Linked DNA regions of Homo sapiens: regions 2, 3, 4, 5, 6 and 7 are each linked to region 1. The links are contacts of gene promoters, found by promoter capture Hi-C in blood cells and fetal thymus (Javierre and others, 2016). All regions are on one chromosome and are shown on one strand. The core of a region is centred on a gene start or on the middle of the fragment in contact, and the rest is flanking DNA. Distances in the headings are between cores, read along the strand shown. Region 1 holds the start of ZNF362 (zinc finger protein 362). Region 2 overlaps ZSCAN20 (zinc finger and SCAN domain containing 20). Region 3 overlaps ZSCAN20 (zinc finger and SCAN domain containing 20). Region 4 has its middle 8.8 kb from the start of AK2. Region 5 has its middle 15 kb from the start of ZSCAN20. Region 6 overlaps PHC2 (polyhomeotic homolog 2). Region 7 overlaps PHC2 (polyhomeotic homolog 2).

Region 1 (2,636 bases), core at 67-2,566:
ACACACACAGCTCCCGAAGGTTCCACACTGCTCGAGGGCAGGGTGGTGGGACAGCAGGATTATTTCCTCATGCCAGGGGTCTTTGCTGGAAATCCTGGACCCATTCTGAGCCCCTCTTGCCGGCCCTCTCCCCCAGATCTGAGGATCTAGCTCCTTACAATGCCATGTTTATAGAGCCCCTTCCAAATAAATGTTTCCCAGTTCCCCCAAAACTCCCATCCTCAACCCTCCACATCCGCCCCCCCACCCCCATCCCGCGCAGCTCTGAGGAAACCGGCAGTTAACTTTTCCCAAAAATCCTGCAAAGGCAGCTGGCTGGGGGAGAAATGGGCCTCGAGATCCTTTCGCGGCATTTCACCGCCTTCCAAAAAAAAAAAAAAAGAAAGAAAGAAAGAAAGAGAAGCAAAGCAAAGCAAACTTTCGGAGTTAACTTTAAATTCCCAGCCCTCCCCCCTCAAATCGCCCGGCAGCTTCCCTTTTTTTTTTTCTTTAAAGTGCAATTGCATTGTGTCTCACCTCCCCGAAAGGCTCGCGGCTCTCGCCAAAGAAAAGGAAAAAAGCCAACCCTTCGGGTGCCCCCTCTGCTTCCAGCCGCCTCTCCCACATTCTCAGACAGTTTTATTAAAATTTTCAGACAAAAGAAAAACAAAAATGGCAGCCTGGCTTATTTTTAAAACAGGACAGGGACGCCATATTCTGCAGATCTGCAAAAAAAGGGAGAAATCCGGCACTGGCTGCTCCACCGGGCCGGCTGCAAAGTGCGCGAACCGCGCCGTTTGCAATCCGTTTATTTGCATTATGCCCCATGAATCATTGTTTACCGGAGAATTGCAGCAGGGTTTGAATAGCCCGGCTTAAGAAAACACACACACACGCGCGCGCACACACACACACGCACACACACTCGGAGACCAGCCCCAGACACGCCGCGGGAGACACTTCCTACCCCGCGCGCCCCGCTGCCGCCGCCGCCGCCGCCGCTCTGGGCCGGGCCCGAGGCGCAGGCGGCCCCGGGCCCTCGGAGCGCCCCGGCCCGCGCTGACAGCGCCCGCGCCCCGGCCCGGCCCCCGCCCGCAACTCGGCGCAACTTTCCCGCGGGCAGGCGCCCGCCGCCGCTGGGCCCGCTCCCCGCGCGCCCCGGGCCCGCACGGACCTGGCTGTGCTGGCGGCGCCTCCGGGACGCGGCCGCAGCCCCGCGCCCGGCGGCCCGAGCAGGGCCGGGCTGGGGCTCCGGCACAGGCTCCGGGCTCGGGCTCCGGCTCTGGCTCGCTGCGGAGCCGCGCGCAAACCTTCCGGGTCGCCTGCTGTTCACTTCTGGGTTCTGCAAGCGCCGAGGCGGCGGCGGCGGCGGCGGCGGGAGGCTGGGTCTGCAGCGCCGCGCGGCCCCCAGTGCGCTCGGCGAGCCCCCGCGCCAGGCGCCCGGCTCCGGGGGGGCCGCGTCGGGCCCCCGCCTCTCCGGCTGCGCAGCCCGTCCGGCCCCGGGGGCTCCCGCGAGTGGGCAGCGCCGGGCGCTGGCGACTGCGCGAGAGGGGAGGGGGCCGGGCGGGGGGCGGGGGCGGGCCGCGCGCTGGGGCCCCCACTCGGGCCCCGGGGCCTCGTCTCGCGCTCGCCGTCGCCGCCGCCGCCGCCGCCGCCACCGCCTGGCAAAGTTGCGCTGCGCCCCCCGCCCGCGCCGCGCCGGAGGCAGAGCCACAAAGGAACTCCTCGCCCCCCTCCGCCCGCCTGAGCCGCGCGGGGAGGGCACCGGCGCCCGGCCCTAGGACAGCCCCTTCCCCAGCGCGGGGGCTCCCGGGGCCCCGGCGGCCGTGGCCATTGTCCTGCCCAGGCCCGGCGGCCGCCTCGCCACCCCACTCCTGGGTGATGGCAGGCTGGGGACTTGGGCCTGGCGGGCCACGGCCCTGACCAGGCCGAGCCCGCGCGGTGCCAGGCTGCCCCTGGGGGTCTCCCTCGAAGACGGCCGCCTGGAGGGGACCCCCAGGATGGACCCTCACCCCTGATAACGACCTGCTCAAAATCCAGGCCGATTTTTTTTTTAAGACGAGGACATAGGGGTGGGGAGTAGAAGTTTGCACAGGCCCAGCCACCCCTCCCTAGCCCTAGGCCGGATCCCCGACGGATGGGGCGGCCCGAAGCTGGCAGTGGCTCCTCTCGCAGAGTCTATCAGAGGTGGCACCGGCTGTCCCCCGGCTCCAGACCTCAGAGCCATCTGTGTGACTCCTCCTCCCGCCTCACCCTCCCCAGCCAATCAGTCACCAAGTCCTCCTGATTCGGCCTCCCGAGCTGTGTCAGCTTCCAAACTTACACTTCTACCTGAGGAGGCAGCCGGTTCCAGGATCCCTTCACCGGCTTAGATTTCTATGGCATCCACCACCCCCCGACCGCTGGGCCAGGATGGATCAGGGCTGGCCCTGCCCTCAGGGAGCGCACAGTCCCCCGGGAAGGGCACAGAGATAAACAATCATCTGCCAGCGTTTGTCCTCCAGGAAGCATTTCCAAATTCAGTAAATATTCATAGAGGACCTAGTAAACATCAACCACTGTTTTTAATAGCTGGTTGGCTGGAGCACAGCTATTAAAAAACTGGATAATGCCCCTGCCCTCACGAAGATTCTAGTCCAGCACAGGATGGCAAACAC
Region 2 (2,636 bases), core at 79-2,578, 240 kb before region 1:
TGCAGGCTTGCTGAAAGTCAGAGGGAGGGCAAAATGATGCTAAAGACATGCTAGCAGTAATAGTGATGCTGGGAGTGTGAAGAAACAGCCAGGAGCTGTGGGGGAAAAGGATCCAGTGTCTACCATCCCAGGCCTCCAGGCCCATTTCAACTCCCTCCTCTCCTGTAAAGCCTTCCCTGCACTCCCACTGCATGGAACACTAACCCCTTGTAGCAGATTGGGGCAGGGGCTTGAGATTGGTGTTTGCTATTAACAGGTGGGGGAGCTGAGCAATGCCCAAATGGAGGATGGGATCAAAACTGAGGTTAAGGGGAGCTTTGGGAGGCTGAGGTGGGAGGATCGCTTGAGGCCAGGAGTTCAAGACCAGCCTGGGCAACACAAGACCCCCATCTCCCCCCCAAAAAAAATGGGGTAAGGGAATATTTTGAATGATTAATTTTGACTTTAGATATTGACTTCATTCAGAAAGAGACCTCTCAGGCAGCTGGGTAACTCCAGCCCAACTGGAAATGCTCTTAGAAGGGAGAAAGTATTGGCAGAACTGAGTCCAAGATGAGTCCAATGGGCAGGTCTCTCCAGGCACGTGCAGGGGAGGCTTGGATGGGAGTCACTGAGTGTGTACATCAATGCACGTGCTGAATGGGCAGGCCAAGAGCCCCATGATGGGTGATGGTAGACACCGGGGCTTTGAGATGCCCAGGAGTCACCCAAGCACAGCTGGTTGGCAGGCAGCTGGGATCCTAAGAGGAGAGGCCACAGCAGGACACAGATCTGGAAGTCATTAGCATCTACACAGAAGAAAAGAGAGAAAGAAAGGAAAAGAAAAAAAGAAGAGAAAGGGAAACAGAGTGAATGAAGAAGCAAGCCTAGGACAGAACTCTGGAGTACAAAGACCCAGAACAGCCTGGGTGAGGCAAGTTCACCTGCAACACCCACACCCACTCCAGACATCACTGCCTTCATTACTTCAAAACTGCACCCCTGTCCCCAAAGGGTGTTACTCCCCTACAGAAAGTGACTCAATTCTTTTCTGCAGCCCGAAAGCAGAGAGCTATCCCCACTGGGGGCCCCAGAACAAGATGAGGCAGGACGGACTACCCAGAGCGCCTGACTACATTATTTAGCATGGAGGGACCCTAGCTGCTTTACTCGGCTTCTGGGAGGAGGCTACAGTGGACAATAAGGCCAAGGCAGCCATGACCATGAGTTCAGCTGCTGAGGTCAAGGCCTTAGAAAAAACCGAGTATCTGAAAAAGTCTTGGCCCCTCCTTTCCCTGCCCCTACCTTTGGGTCTGCTGCCTCTGGGGGTCTGAGGAATGGGAGGCCTAAGGTCCTTTAGGTACCTTTTTGTCCCTTCAGAGGAGCCAATGCCCTTCTTGAGGTGGAGGGTGAAGAAATCAAGGGGAGGCAGCCATCTGGGGAGACGATCCTGCCTTTAGCAGCTCACATGATGTAACACCCTCCCAGGGCAGCATTTGCTGGTTTGGTTTTCCATAACCAGGGTCTGACCTGTGGCCAGGAAGGCTGAGAAACTGTCCACCCATTCTGCAGAGTGAATCTACTTCCCAAGAGCAGAATCACGCTAGCAAAGCTCAGGGTGTGTAAAACCAGATGTCAGTTTATCTGAGCAGCACAGACCTACTGGAGGGCGCCTGGGTGCCCAGCAAGCTCTTGGGTAGACAGCAAGCCTGGAACACTGAAGCCCCCTGAAAGAGTGCTTCTTCCAAAGGAAGTCAGGTAGACAAGGAGGAAGGGACCACCTGGGCCATTTTCTCACCTGGCCCACACTGGCCTTGCTTTCATGACTGAACCTCTATTAAGATTCATGAGACAAGAATGGCAGATAATAAACATCAAAACTGTTCACTAAAGATATGAGACACTAACACACTACCAAACCCAGGGGAAAGGGTGACCAAGTGGAGAGAGGACTACCACCTCACATCCACACAGAGCTCAGCTTGACTTCCACAGTGAGGGCTCCAGAAAACTCAGGGCTACATGAAGAATTCAGGGGTCAGTAACAAAGAAGACAGGGTCCAGAACATGATGGTAGTGGGTGGGAGTGGGGAATGGTCTAGATCTCCTTTGAGGGCCATCTTCCTCTCCATTCAGCACTATCAAGTAGCTCTGTCCTAGGCCCAATATTTGAAACTGAAATTCTTCCTTTCTCATTAGTTTAACTACTTCGCATACACAGATCTCTAGTCCTAGCCTCTCCCCTAGCTGCTAGCCGACATCCAAATGCATAGCATCACCATGATTTCCCTTAAGCACCTCAAGTTCTAGACATACCAAACTAAACTTCTCATCTTCTGCCCTCCTGCTCTATCAGCCTCTCCTCCTTGTGCTCCCAATTCTGAATGAGGACATGCTCTACCCAGTCACCAAAGGCATTCTAGCTTTCCTCTGATGTCCTCCCCTCTGCCTCTGAGACCTTTCCCATTCATTCCCTCCTCCTCAGTGTCACCACTGCTCTAGTTCAGACCCTAGCCTTTAGCTGAAATACCACAACAGTGTCCCAAAAGGCCATCCTAATTGCAGCATGTCCAAGTTCCATTCAGCTGTCAGATTTCAACCATGCACATCTGAACATTGCCCCGGGCCTGGTGTTGACACTCCATTCACATGTGAGG
Region 3 (2,636 bases), core at 93-2,592, 220 kb before region 1:
TACATTACTGCTATAAGCACTCAGAGACATCACATATGCAGAAAGATTTTGTTAAGTATAAAACACGAGTTAATCATATTGTGAATACGGTAGTGGGAGGCAGTTTGGAGTAGTGGTTAGGCATACCAGCTTTAGAGTTAGAATGCCTGAGTTCAAATCCTGACTCTACCATCTAGCAGCTGTTGAGACCCTGGGCAACTTACCTATCTTTTCTCTGTCTCTGTTTTCTCACTGGTAAAATTAGGATAATAGCACCTATCTCATTAAATTGTTGACAGGACTAAGTGGGTTAATACATGTAAAGCACTTAGAACACTTCCTGGTATACAGTAGTGGTCAATAAGTGTCAGTTCTCAATAACTATTGTTATTTTTATTGTGAATTTGGCAATTATTAACGTAGTCACAACCCTGCTGCCTTGCCTGACCCACTCCTCTGCAGGAGAAGACTGTTTGTCTCACCGACTGTCCTGCAGTCCTGGTCTCTCGGTGCCAATCCTCCACCAAGGCCACAGCCTCCTCACCACTCTCAGGGTGGCGTGCCTGCACCCAGGTCTGGACCTCCCTAGGCAAGATAGTCAGGAACTGCTCCAGCACGAGCAGCTCCAGGATCTGCTCTTTGAGACGGATCTCCGGCCTCAGCCAACGACAGCAGAGAGCCCAGAGCTGGCTGAAGGCCTCGTGGGGTCCAGCTGCATCCCTGTATTGGAATTGCCTGAAGCGCTGGCGGGAGGCCTCTGGGCCAGAGACAGAGCCACGGTCCTTCTCCCAGAGTTTGGATTCTGATCCCCAAGAGTCCTCTTCCAGTTTCACAATCAGGAGTTCTTCAGGCTCTGGCTGCGGAGATGCCTGGGCTTGCAATTCCAGGGCCATAGCCATTGTCTAACCCAGACACCTCACTTCAGCTATGCTGACCTCATCCAATGTCTTCCTGCATCTACGGTGAGTCCTTCAAGAGGCTCCTAGAAAAGGGACTGCTCCCCAAGGCTCTAAGGCAGAAAGACAAAGGATAGAGTGTGAGCAAAAGGATGCAGAAGCTTCATTCTCCCCCTTCCCCCATATCTTCCGCCACCTTTGCATGGGGGCAGAGGTGCTAAGAGATGCCCCTTTCCCATAGGCAGGAAGTAAGGCCACAATCTGGCACCAAAGCCAGTAGCACCTACCTTACTTGACTGCTGGGTTGATTAGATGAGGGATCTATATATAAAAAGCTTAGACCAGTGTCTGACACAGTGAGTGCTCACAAAATGTCAATTAATATCTCATTTGAGCCTCACACTTTGGAGGAAGACAGCACTGTATTCAATCCTCTAGGTCATGCCTGAACACCTTAGCCTGGCATCCCACACCTCCATGATCTGGTCCAGTGTAGACTTCCTCCCTTCTACACATGTCCAAAGTCCAACCTTCCCTCAAGTTGGGTTCCAAATGTCACCCCCTTCCTAAGGCCTTTCTTCCCTAATCTTAAAGCTTGGCTGGCATTCCTCTAAGGATGTTCTCCTTGCAAAATCCAACAACTCTATGCTATCCCCTGGTCATCCCACCTATTTGGCATTATTCATCATCCCTATACATGACTCCTAAAACTCCAGCAAGGACCTGTTTCCAGACCTCCAGACCCCAAAATCCAAACCCCTTCATGACACTTCTACTTGACTGTCCCTTAGGCACCTCAAACTCAATGAGTCAAAAACTGGATTTGTTATTTTCTCCTGCAATCATGTCTGCCTTCTGAAGCTCCCCCTTCAGTGAAGGCACTGCCATCAAGTTCTCCACACCAGAAACCTGGTCATCATCATTCTCTAAGATCCCCAAATCCAATTCATCACCACGCTGTGTCCACTTGGCATCTCCATCTCCAATGCTACCACTTCAGTGCAGAGAATCATCATGTCTTCCACCTGATCAGTCTCCTAACACGTCCCTGCCTCCACTCACCTCACCCCAACCTCTGCTCTATTGTTTGCACAACAACCAAACTAGATCAAAGCCTGACTACACCACCTCCCTGCTAAACACCCTCCAGTGATCTACCATTTCCCTCAGGACAAAGCACAAGCCTTACCCAAGTCTCCAACTCGTCTCTTTACCATGCTCCACTAGTCATGGTGCTCCAGAAGCACAGCTTCCAGATCTTACACCACGCTGCCCTCTGAACCTTCCCCTCTTTGGGAAGGTCTCCTTTGGGAATGGTCTCCTCCCTTCCTTCAGCTAGCAAGGTCTCAGCTTAAATTGCTCTTTTTCCGTAAGGCCTTCCCTGCACCCTGAAACAAGATTCAGTCCTCGACCACAAGCTCCCATAGCATCTTACATTTTCTCTACCATAGCCCAGATCATGCTTTACTGTAATTTTCTTACCCACTAGATCATTAGCTTCCCAAGAGACCTAGCACAGTGCTCAGCACATATAGGAAGTACTCAATAAATAATAAAGTCACGAATGATTGACTAATGATGATGGTGTGTCATTAAGCAAGGATTGCAATTAATCCCTTTCTGTGCACACTAGATAAAAAATAAATGACCTTCGCGCTCATGCCAAAAGGAATTCCTTTCTCTTTTATTTCCATGTCTCTGTGACACTTACCACTTTCTACACTGTATGAGACATTGTATGAGAAGGATGTGCGTATCTAT
Region 4 (2,636 bases), core at 52-2,551, 210 kb after region 1:
GTAATCCCAGCACTTTGGGAGGCCGAGGTGGGTGGATCACTTGAGTCAGGAGTTCAAGACCAGCCTGGCCAACATGTGAAACCTCGTCTCTACTAAAAATATAAAAATTAGCCGAGTCTGTTGGTGGGCACCTGTAATCCTAGCTACTTGGGAGACTAAGGCAGGAGAATCGCTTGAACCCAGGAGGCAGAGGTTGCAGTGAGCTGAGATCGAGCCACTGCACTCCAGCCTGGGCAACAGAGTGAAACTCTGTCTCAAAAAAAAAAAAGGGGAAAGAAAAAGAAAAAGAATGTGGTGGCCGTGCACGGTGGCTCATGCCTGTAATCCCAGCACTTTGGGAGGCTAAGGTGGGGGATCATCTGAGGTCAGGAGTTCAAGACCAACCTGGCCAACATGGTGAAATCCCACCTCTACTAAAAATACAAAAATTAGCCAGGCATGGTAGCAGGCACCTGTAATCCCAGCTATTCAGGAGGCTGAGGCAGGAGAATTGCTTGAACCCCGGAGGCAGAGGTTGCAGTGAACCAAGGTCACACCACTGCACCCCAGCCTGGACAACAGAGTGAGACTCCGTCTTAAAAAAAAAAAAAAAAAAGGATGTGGTGGGTAGAATGAAATTTCAGGTTTTCTTCTTTAGTCTCTAGTCATTCTCTGATTCCTTTCCCCTCAAGTGTTGGCTTCCCAGCTTTTAGTCGTCATTCTTCTCTCCTCTCTACCCTCCCACAAAACAAGCTCATCTCCTCTATGTCTTTGACGCAGGTAGTAATAGTTAACATTTACTGAGTGCTTACCATGAGTAGGGCACCGTGCTAAGTACTTTACATCCATTATGTAATCTGATACTCACTGTGATCCTGTGAAGTGGGTATCGGCATCCTGATTTTGCAAAGAGAAATTGAGGCCCAGCAGGGTTAAGTTACTTGCCATGTCACATAAGGTGCTTTGGGCAGTGAGTATCAGAATGCCGACATAGATGCGGTTTGAACATTAGGGGTTTATCTCTCATCACAGGAAGTGTGGAAGAAGGTGACATCTGAGTTGCTTAATTCAGCAGCTCAGTGATGTCAGACCCTAGGTCAGCTTCCCTCTGAGTCTCGCAGCTCTCCCCTCCTGGTCCCAAGATAGCTGCTACATTTCAAGCGCTGCATCATCCCTGAGGCAGGCAGGAAGGGAGTTTTTCTTCTTGTGCATCTCTTTTTCCTGGAAAGCAAAGCCTCCCACAAAAGCCCCCAAGAGAATTTCCCATAGGACCCTGTCTCCTCTCCCCCTTTTTTCTTTCCTTACCCTCTTGAGTTGTAACTCCAGCCAGACTGACCCTCTTTCAACTCTGTACCAAACAGAAGTCTTGGTGGCTAACCTAAGCAGTGAAGGAATTTATTGAATACTGTGAGGTTTTCACCAATTCCAAACATGAGTAGGAACCAAAAGTAATTAGGCTAAGAACACAGCCAAAGACATGGCACAGGAAAAGCCTACCTGGACAGCCACCACTGGCCACGGTCCACCCACTGAGGCTGGACTCTTACCTCCCCACCAAGAACAGGCCCTGCCCCTTCCTCTCTCTCCCTCAAGAGTCAAAGTCCTGGGCAGGACATCCCACTGGCCAAGCCTGGTCACGTGCTCACTCCCCTGTTGCCAAGAAGGCAGGCAAGAGTCTGCCCTTTCAGCTTCTGCAGGGTGGCTCTGTTTTCCCCCAAGTTCCTTGCAGTGAAGGATTTCCACAACACAAGAGGGGTGTTCCTCTGCCAAATATCACAGTTCCCCTCAACTTTCTATAATATTTCTTTTTTTTTTTTGGAGATAGGGTCTTGCTCTATCCCTCAGGCTGGAGTGCAGTGGCATGATCTTGGCTCACTGAAACCTCCGCCTCCCAGGTTCAAGTGATTCTCATGCCTCAGCCTCCCGAGTAGCTGGGATCACAGATGCTCGCCACCATACCTGGCTAATTTTTGTATTTTTAGTAGGGATGGGGTTTCACCATGTTGGCCAGGCTGGTCCTGAACTCCTGACCTCAGGTGATCTGCCCACCTCGGCCTCCCAAAGTGTTGAGATTACAGGCATGAGCCACCACGCCCAACCTCTTGTCATAATCTTTCTTAACTCCAGGCCTTTGCACATGCCATTCCCTTTGTCTAGAATACCCTTCTTCCCTCTCTTCCCTAAGCAAATCCTCCTTGTTCTTAAGGTTTCATCTCACTTACACATCATTTCCCCTCAAATCTGAGCTGGGGGCTCCTCTATTGTGCTGTTACTGAAGCCTGTACCTTTCCCAGCACAGACTCCGTCAATGTCTTATTTGTTGTTTTTTTTGTTTTTTTCCCCCGCTTGACTGCAAGTTCTGTAGAAGTGGAGAGTTTTCTTTTCTTTTCTTTTTTTTTTTTTGAGATGGGGTCTTGCTCTGTCACCCAGTCTAGAGTGCAGTGGCACAGTCTCAGCCCACTACAACCTCTGCCTCCTAGGTTCAAGTGATTCTCCTGCCTCAGCCTCCTAAGTAGCTGGGATTACAGGCACATGCCACCACACCTGGCTAATTTTGGTATTTTTAGTAGAGACAGGGTTTCACCATGCTGGCCACGCTGGTCTTAAACTCCTGACCTCAGGTGATCTGACCGCCTCGGCCTCCCAAAGTGCTGGGA
Region 5 (2,636 bases), core at 46-2,545, 200 kb before region 1:
GGAAGATCACTTGAGGTCAGGAGTTTGAGACCAGCCTGGCCAACATGGTAAAACCCCATCTCTACTAAAAATACAAAAAAAAAAAAAATTAACCGGGTGTGCTGGCAGGCACCTGTAATCCTAGCTACTCAGGAGGCTGAGACACGAGAATTGTTTGAACCTGGGAGGCAGGGATTGAAGTGAGCCAAGATCGCACCATTGCACTCCAGCCTGGGAGACAAAGCGAGACTCTGTCTCAATAAATAAATAAATAAATAAATAAATAAATAAATAAATAAAAATATAAACCATATCACAGCACTCTCTTGCTTAAGCCCTTCAATGGCTTCCCATCACATTTATAATTTTTTTTTGTCTGACCTACAATGCCTTACCTGAGCTGGTTCTCACCCACCATTGAATACCAACCATGCAACTCCCCCCATCTCTCTCTCTCTCTTTCCCAACACACTTGGCCTTCTCTCTGCTGATCAGAAGGGCCACGCCCACCTCCACCTAAGGGCTTTTGCAGTAGCTGTTCTCTTTCCCTGGTAAGCTCTGCCCACCTGTGATGGGTTTTTGCTTTTGTATTCTGGAAGGTTTGTTGTTTGTAGATGTGTCTGTGTGTATGCATGCGTGTGTGTGTGTGTGTGTGTCTGTTTTTACTAACCATGAGTTAATGCTACAAGACTGATGGTTTTAAATATGAGTCACCACGTTAGGAACTTTTGCCTGAGACAAAACAATACTCCCAGGACATTGAGAGGCTCTGTTCTCCCACCCTATTTTCTTAGCAGATAGCATGACTTTGAACCTAAAACAAAATAAAACTCTTTGAAGTCTTTCCAACAATGAAAAGACATAATTTGGTAATAATAACAATAATATGAAAACAAAATAGAATTTAAGACAAATCATTAAGTGATTAAAGAGGATCATGTGGAAATAATAAAAGCTCTATTACTAGAGCCACAAAACACACACATCAAAGCTTTTAGAACTATAAGGAGAAGGTGACAGAAGCACAATTGTAGTTTTTATTTATTCACCCAACAATGTGCCAGGCACTGCGCTAGGTGGTGGGGAATAAGCAGTGAACAAAACATCTAAAATTCCTGAGACTGTGGAGCTTACTTTTAATGGGAGAAAACAGACAATTTTTAAAGTAAATATACAATATATTATATAATCATGAGTTATATGGTGAAAAATAAAGCAATGGGCCGGGCACGGTGGCTCACGCCTGTAATCCCAGCACTTTGGGAGGCTGAGGCAGGCGGATCATGAGGTCAGGAGATCGAGACCATCCTGGCTAACACAGTGAAACCCCGTCTCTTCTAATAATACAAAAAAATAGCTGGGCGTGGTGGCGGGCGTCTGTAGTCCCAGCTACTCGGGAGGCTGAGGCAGGAGAATGGCGTGAACCTGGGAGGCGGAGCTTGCAGTGAGCCGAGATTGCGCCACTGCACTCCAGCCTGGGTGATAGAGCGAGACTCCATCTCAAAAAAAAAAAAAAGAAAGAAAGAAAAATAAAGCAATGAAGGTGGATGGGGAGAAACAAGGGTAGGAATCAAGGTAGAATTTTAAGTAATGTGTCTAAGAAGACCTCTCTAGTGAGGTGACATTTGAACAGAAGCTTGAAGAATGGAGAGGGAACCACCCATCTCTCTGGCAGAGGAAGCAGCAAGTGCAAAGGCCCTAAGGTGGGAGGTGGAAGCCAGGAGGCCAGGGCGGCTAAAGTGGAATGAGCCAGAAGAGGGATAGCGGATGAAATCAGAGACATCTGCAGGGCATAGCCGCTCAGGGTGGCGCCGTAGACTGTTGTCAGGACTCTGGCTTTTATTCTGTATGAGATATGGGGTCATTAGAGGGTTTTCATCAGAGGAGTGACACAAGCCTGTTTATACTATCAAAGAATCATTCGGGCTGCTATGATAAGAGCAGAATTGCTGGGGATAGTGGTGGTTGCATGAGGACAGAAGCAGAGGGATAAGTGAGGAGTTGTTGCATTAAGTCAGGTGTAAGATAATGTGGGCTTGAACCCTGGTGATAGACTTGGGATTAAGAGGTTAAGACATGGTTAAATTCTGGATATATTTTGAAGATGGAACTGACAGCATTGGCTGATGAGTTGGACGTGGGGTGTGAGGAAAGAGAAGTCAAGGATGATGCCAAGACTGTGGGAGAACAGATTTAGAAGAATTAGTTCAACTTTTAAAGTACTCAGTTTAAAATGACTGTTATAGGCCAGGGGTGGTGCCTCATGCCTATAATCCCAGCATCTTGTGAGGCCAAGGCAGGTAAATTGCTTGAGCCCAGGAGTTTGAGACTAGCCTGAGTAACATGGTGAAGTCCCATCTCTACAAAAACATACAAAAATTTTCTGGGCGTGGTGGCACATGCCTGTAGTCCCAGCTACTCAGGAGGCTGAGGTGGGAGAATCACTTGAGCCCAGGAGATAGACCCTGCAGTGAGCTGTGATTGCACCATTGCCCTCCAGCCTGGATGACAGAGTGAGACCCTGTCTCAAAATAAATAAATAAAACAAAACAAAACAAAATGACTATTATATACCAAGTGGCTGTGTCAAATGACGCAAAGTGCTAGGCATAGGAGGCACTTGATACCTGTGTGCACATGTGTGTATGTGTATACAT
Region 6 (2,636 bases), core at 75-2,574, 170 kb before region 1:
TCTGTGCTGAGTGATGACCTGACACCCATGGGAAAAGGTCGCTGCTGGACACCTGGATCGGGTCTGTCATACACGGAGGAAGCGGCTGTTCTACGTGAGTGTCTAACAAATTTCTTATAAGGCGAGGTTTAAATTCATCTTCCCCCCTCCCCAGGTCTGCTACAGAAGTGTCTTCTTGTAATTATCCCCCTCCCCCAATTCACTAAGACTGGTGGCAGCTTTAGGCTCACAGTGTAATTTAGCTTTTGCGACAATAGAAATGGTAGGAGGAGAGATGCGCCACTGATACTAAGCTTGCCCTGGGAGTTTCTTGGAAGTGTGGGGTAAAAAATATTTCTATCACCAGTGGGGATGAAAAATCGGCTAATGCGCCCGTGATATCAATAGAGTTTCTTTTGTGAGTCTAAAGTCGTTCCTTCTAAATCAAGAGAAAATGCGGTTACAATTGAAAAGTACCAGAAACCAATTTGATTTTGCAAGTGAAGTGCAAATTCCACTTCCACGTTGCTCTTGATGTCTTTTATCACCCAACAACAAATACTTGGCATATGCCAGGCACTCTGCTATGTCTTGGGGATGCAAAGATGAATAAGATAATTAGTCCTTGTCCTGAAAGAAGTGGTAGGAGAAACAAATGAAATTGCTAGTAAAAGTGATTAACAGCATAATAGATGTGAATGCAAAGGGCTTTGGAAGCACAGAGGAGGGAACAATTAGCTGTCTGAGAGGACCAGGGAAGGCTTTCCAGAGAACACATTTAAGCAAGGTGTTGAAGGATAAATAGGAGTTTACCTTGCAGAGAAAATTGGAAAGGACTGAAAAGGCAGCCAAAGCGGGGGAACAGCGAATGCAGCCACATAAAGAATATGTTATCTCTAGGGAATGGCTTTCTATTGTAACTATGGCTTTTTTTCCTTCCTCTGTAATGTAACTTTCTAAAAGTAGCCTAGAATTTCTTATTCCCAGCACAGTTGTCCAGTGATATTTTTCTTATTGTTTTCTCCCCCATATTTTCCCCTCATCAGTTTTTCTGAGCCTCATTCCTGGTCTTTGTCACCCATATCTTCCCAAGTAAGGGTCCATCATGTGGAGGTTGAATAGGAGTAGTTTTCAGTTGCTCCAAGGGAGAGGGCCTGAAACTGGGCATAATGTTTGGCACTAGAGGCAGCATCTGAGAGGGGCAAATCTAAATCATACAAAAAGAGAATACATGACCATAACTAGGGAAGCAATGCTGAATGTCAAATTTGTGAGACCTGGGGAAATAAGTAGTAAGATCAGAAGCTGGAAGGATCTGGATTAAGAGAGGATTGGAGTGTGAGATGGGTCAGGGCAAGTAGTCCAGGATTGAGACCATGAATCGTGCACATGCAGCTGAGCCCACTGTTGCATGGTGCCAGCTGTGCAGAACAGCGGTGGATCTGCCAGACTGGGCCAGGCCCTCCATAGGCTTTCCAATGCCTCCTCCTTTCTGTTCACCCTCCCTCCTTACTATTATCCTCTTCTCTTCATCCCAGTTTCCACCCATGTCTCATGCATTGGGCTTCTTTTAATGAGGTCTTAGCTAACAGAGCAGAGAAAATCCCATTCTGCTGTCTTAGCATCTATCTCTAGAACTATAAATAGTCCATTTAACCTCATTAGCCATCAACTAGCCAGCCTATTTTTACTTCCTGATCATTTAGAAGCTGAGCAAGGTTGGGCCCAGAGTAGCAAAGTGGACCTCATCCCCAAAACTCTTCTAATATTTGAATCAGATAAAGGCCTTTTTGCTTTGCTTAGACCACATTTATTTTTAGAATGGATTATGGTGAGTTTTTGGCAAATTTCCTGTTTTGAATTATATTACAGATCAAGTCGTGTAAAGAAGGTGTCACTGGGGTGACATGCTTAATACGGTCTGCTAAGATTGATGATACTGTAAGTGCTGGAAAATCATGGGCGGTATTTAAGCAATCTTCTCAGTCAGTGTATTTACTGAACACCTGCTTGTGTGCAAATACTATCCTGTATTTGTGATGTGGAGGAGACAGGAAAATGAGAGTGGTGGTGTAGTATGGGGGTTATTCTCAGCTAAACAAAGATTTGGATCCCAGTTCTACCAGGTACTTGCTACATGACTTTGACTTCAGTTTCTTCATCTGTAATAATGCCACCTACCCAATATAGTTGTGAGGACTAAATGAAATCACAAATGTATAGCAGTCATTTAGTACCTTTTTGAGATGCTTAATGCGTGGTATTATAGGAGTTGAGAAAAGAAAAAAAATGGTGATAATTGAAGCCATATGATTAGCTGAGTTCACTGCTGGTAACAGCATAGAAATAGAATAGAGGATGAAGGACTGAAGCTTGAAGATACATCCCACATTTAGGGAGGGAGGGAGAAGGCATGGAGTCCGTATGGTAGAAAATAAGAAAAGAAGCAAGAGAACCATCTAATGTATTTATCCAACAAATGCATTCTATTCACCACCATTTGTTGTGTACCTGACAGATGCCAAGGCCAGTTAGACACGCTATTAACCATGAGAGTGTAGTATCACAGAAGTCAAGAGAAGAAAAAGTTTTGAGCTGCAGAAATTCGTCAGCAGTTTGAAATTGTACAGAAAGAGTGGGAAACATTCATTATACTT
Region 7 (2,636 bases), core at 67-2,566, 140 kb before region 1:
AAGGATTGTTCTTTCTGCTTTAAAGACAAGGAAACAGTGACTCAGTGTAGCATAGCACCTTGTCCTAGTCACACTCATAATGCAGGACAGAGGTGGATCCTATTCAGGCCTGAATACCCCAACCCCACACACTGTTTTGTTCTACTGTTCACTTTGTACATCTGTAGTAGAATTTTTCACATTTTGCCTTGTATATAGTTTCATTGTTCTTCCAATACTGTAAAACTCCTTGAACTCTGGACCCAGACTGCCTGAAGAAAGAAACCGTGTCTTTTTCACCTACCCTCCAAGCAACAATCAGCGAGGCTATCGAGGTCAACTGGACTTGCCCCAAGAACACTTCATGGTCAATGTCTGGGTCAGGAATTGACTTTAGCCAACTGTGCCCTCTGTTGTGAAGCCATCCTAGAAACCAGTGCCTCCCATCTGTGTGTGCTTTCTAGCTCTGAAAACTACCAAAAAGTCCCTGTATCTACTGGAATATAGCTTTGGGAAACCAAGAATGCCTGCAGCCCCTCGTTCAGCAGGTACTTCAATGCAGAGGACCAATGTGGGCAGAACTGCACTACCAGCTTGTGAATGAATGTTCAGATGGGAAGTGAGCATCTTTTCCCTTATGTTTTGTGCTAAGAATACTGTGATGTTGAAGCCCAGATACTTTAAGATACATAGACATTTGGAAAATAAAGAAAAGGATAAATGAGAAAATAAAAATCAGCAGTAACACTATCACCCAAAGCAGCCATTGTTAACATTTGGTATCTATCCTCCCAGCTAAGCTATACATTAAATAACATGTACTTAACAATGGGATTATATTATGCATATTACATTTGTAACAAGCTTAGTGCCATTTTGATTGGTTATTCCAAATCTAGGGGAAGCCTATTAGACAAAAGTTCTCTCCTTCCTCTGGCTGTGATTTACTGGGGGTAGAGGTGGGGTTTAAATCATAATTACACTTACTTAATGTCATTTAAAATGTTGCAAAGCATTTCACATCCTGCTGAGGAATCTGATAGTGCTGAAGCAAGACCAGAGTCTACCTCTGCACTCAAGCCTTAGAGCCTTTCCACAATGCTTTTCAGTTTCAGGTTTCAGGAGGAAAGAGAAGCAAAAAGCAGTGCTATCATAAGCAGGGCTAGATGATCTAATGGCAGAGCCAGATGGGGTCTTGTTTTTAGTTGCAATCTGTCTGAGGCATTCTTGTAATATTATTTAACAATTAATTTTTAAGTATTTTTTTACATGCACAGGGAACAAAGTCCAAAAGATTCAAAAGAGTATACGGTGAAAAGCATGCCTCCCCCTACTCCCCGGGAGGCATCACTGTCTGCGATTTCTTGTGTATCCTTATCTGAAGCATTTTGAGTTCAAAGGGCAGGCAAGCATTTGCAGAGGTCATCAAGGGTATTTTCCTTTGTCGCATCAGTATTCTCTGCAGAGGTCATCCTGGTAACCAGGCTTCATAACCCCCAACAATATTCCAAAGGAATATCTCCTTTCAAAGTGCATGGTGGATGTACCCTGAGGCAGAGCCAAAATCACCCACTGAGACCACCCCAAACAAAGAGGGCAGAGAGCTGCCGTGCTGCCAGAGGAACAGACTCAGGAGGGCCACAGCTGAATCTGGACCAGTCTCAGAGTCAGGAGACCGAGGCCTCATCTGGTCTCTGCCATGGATGGACTGTAAGCAAGTTACTTAACCTTTCTGCGAAGTCTCCTCCTTGTCTAACAGGGTAAGATTATAATTAAGAGGATGGCTCAAAACAATTCCTCTTAAGCTTTAATGTGCACGTGAATGACCCAGAGGATCTTGTTGCAATGCTCATTCAGATTCAGCAGGTCTGGGGTGGGGCCCAAGATTCTGCATTTTCAACATGCTCCAAAGACTCAAGAAGTGGCCCTCAACTACTGGCCTGTGACCTGTTCCCGGGACTAAGCACCTGGTAATGTTTACTTCAGAGCTGAGCAGCTCCCTCTGGAGAACCCTGGCATTCAATTTCCTAAGATTTTTATTTGACCTCTGGTGCCTGGTGATGGTGCTGCTGCCAGACCCTGTGCTGAATGCTCTGAATATATGGTTCCTCTCATTGTCCCAGCTACTCAGTGAAGTAGGTGTTGTGATTATCCCCATTTCACAGATGAGGAAACTAAGGCTTAGAGAGGTGAATGTGCTCAATATTACACAGCTGGTAAGAGGCAGAGCAGGCCTTCCCACAGACCATCTGATTCCAGACTCCTCGTGTTAACACTAAACCAAAGAGCGAGTGGCATTCTCCATTTCAGCCTTGAAAGTGAACACCATAGGAAGTGCTGTACCAAGGGGCCTCCTCTTGTGTCTGTGTGGGAGGAGGACGCTGCTGTCCGTCAGCTCAGAGTGTCTCCTCCAAAGAAATGCATCTCAGCTTGCAAAGCCTCTACCTCAAATTTTTGTGAAAACTCTTCAAGGATTCTGACCGCAGCTCTTATCAGTTACGGGGCAGGAAGCCGCCTTCCACAAGCCACTCTCTCCCCATACCAGAGGGTTCCTTGGCTGTGAACAGCACTTAGATTGTGTCAGAGGAAGGCCATGGGCTTTAACAGGCCACATCCATTTTCATTTACCTTCTGAAAGAAGATTAAGGAGAAAATTC

The links. The method cuts DNA at HindIII sites, captures the fragments that hold promoters and counts their contacts. A CHiCAGO score of 5 or more calls a contact.
Region 2: a contact is called between a fragment that was not itself captured here and the fragment with the promoter of ZNF362 in region 1, in 1 of 17 cell types (M0 macrophages). The highest score is 5.4, in M0 macrophages.
Region 3: a fragment that was not itself captured here is called in contact with the fragment with the promoter of ZNF362 in region 1 in 4 of 17 cell types (M0 macrophages, M2 macrophages, naive B cells and 1 more); the score reaches 7.5 in M0 macrophages.
Region 4: a contact is called between a fragment that was not itself captured here and the fragment with the promoter of ZNF362 in region 1, in 1 of 17 cell types (total CD4 T cells). The highest score is 5.2, in total CD4 T cells.
Region 5: a contact is called between a fragment that was not itself captured here and the fragment with the promoter of ZNF362 in region 1, in 2 of 17 cell types (M0 macrophages and erythroblasts). The highest score is 6.4, in M0 macrophages.
Region 6: a fragment that was not itself captured here is called in contact with the fragment with the promoter of ZNF362 in region 1 in 3 of 17 cell types (naive CD4 T cells, erythroblasts and total CD8 T cells); the score reaches 6.1 in naive CD4 T cells.
Region 7: a contact is called between a fragment that was not itself captured here and the fragment with the promoter of ZNF362 in region 1, in 1 of 17 cell types (neutrophils). The highest score is 5.6, in neutrophils.

Annotation. Positions count from the first base shown.
Region 1 is chr1:33,255,172-33,257,807 of GRCh38, reverse strand. It overlaps ZNF362 (zinc finger protein 362), which reads right to left and starts at 1,316. Exons shown (of 9, transcript NM_152493.3): 1 at 1,154-1,316. RefSeq lists an enhancer at 566-860 and silencers at 1,326-1,385, 1,828-1,927. The HindIII fragment of the contact is 6,922 bases long and covers 1-2,636 here.
Region 2 is chr1:33,497,540-33,500,175 of GRCh38, reverse strand. ZSCAN20 (zinc finger and SCAN domain containing 20) reads right to left here. Exons shown (of 8, transcript NM_001377376.1): 8 at 1-2,636. Among named protein-coding and RNA genes, the nearest start is that of ZSCAN20, 26 kb to the right of the region's middle. The HindIII fragment of the contact is 4,309 bases long and covers 1-2,636 here.
Region 3 is chr1:33,477,531-33,480,166 of GRCh38, reverse strand. ZSCAN20 (zinc finger and SCAN domain containing 20) reads right to left here. Exons shown (of 8, transcript NM_001377376.1): 2 at 462-988. The coding sequence starts at 878. Among named protein-coding and RNA genes, the nearest start is that of ZSCAN20, 6.2 kb to the right of the region's middle. The HindIII fragment of the contact is 259 bases long and covers 1,213-1,471 here.
Region 4 is chr1:33,044,371-33,047,006 of GRCh38, reverse strand. No RefSeq gene overlaps it. Among named protein-coding and RNA genes, the nearest start is that of AK2, 8.8 kb to the right of the region's middle. The HindIII fragment of the contact is 3,184 bases long and covers 1-2,636 here.
Region 5 is chr1:33,456,773-33,459,408 of GRCh38, reverse strand. No RefSeq gene overlaps it. Among named protein-coding and RNA genes, the nearest start is that of ZSCAN20, 15 kb to the left of the region's middle. The HindIII fragment of the contact is 645 bases long and covers 973-1,617 here.
Region 6 is chr1:33,427,639-33,430,274 of GRCh38, reverse strand. All of the region lies in intron 1 of PHC2 (polyhomeotic homolog 2), which reads left to right. Among named protein-coding and RNA genes, the nearest start is that of PHC2, 2.1 kb to the left of the region's middle. The HindIII fragment of the contact is 2,058 bases long and covers 296-2,353 here.
Region 7 is chr1:33,396,588-33,399,223 of GRCh38, reverse strand. The region is part of intron 1 of PHC2 (polyhomeotic homolog 2); the gene reads left to right. Among named protein-coding and RNA genes, the nearest start is that of PHC2, 33 kb to the left of the region's middle. The HindIII fragment of the contact is 941 bases long and covers 846-1,786 here.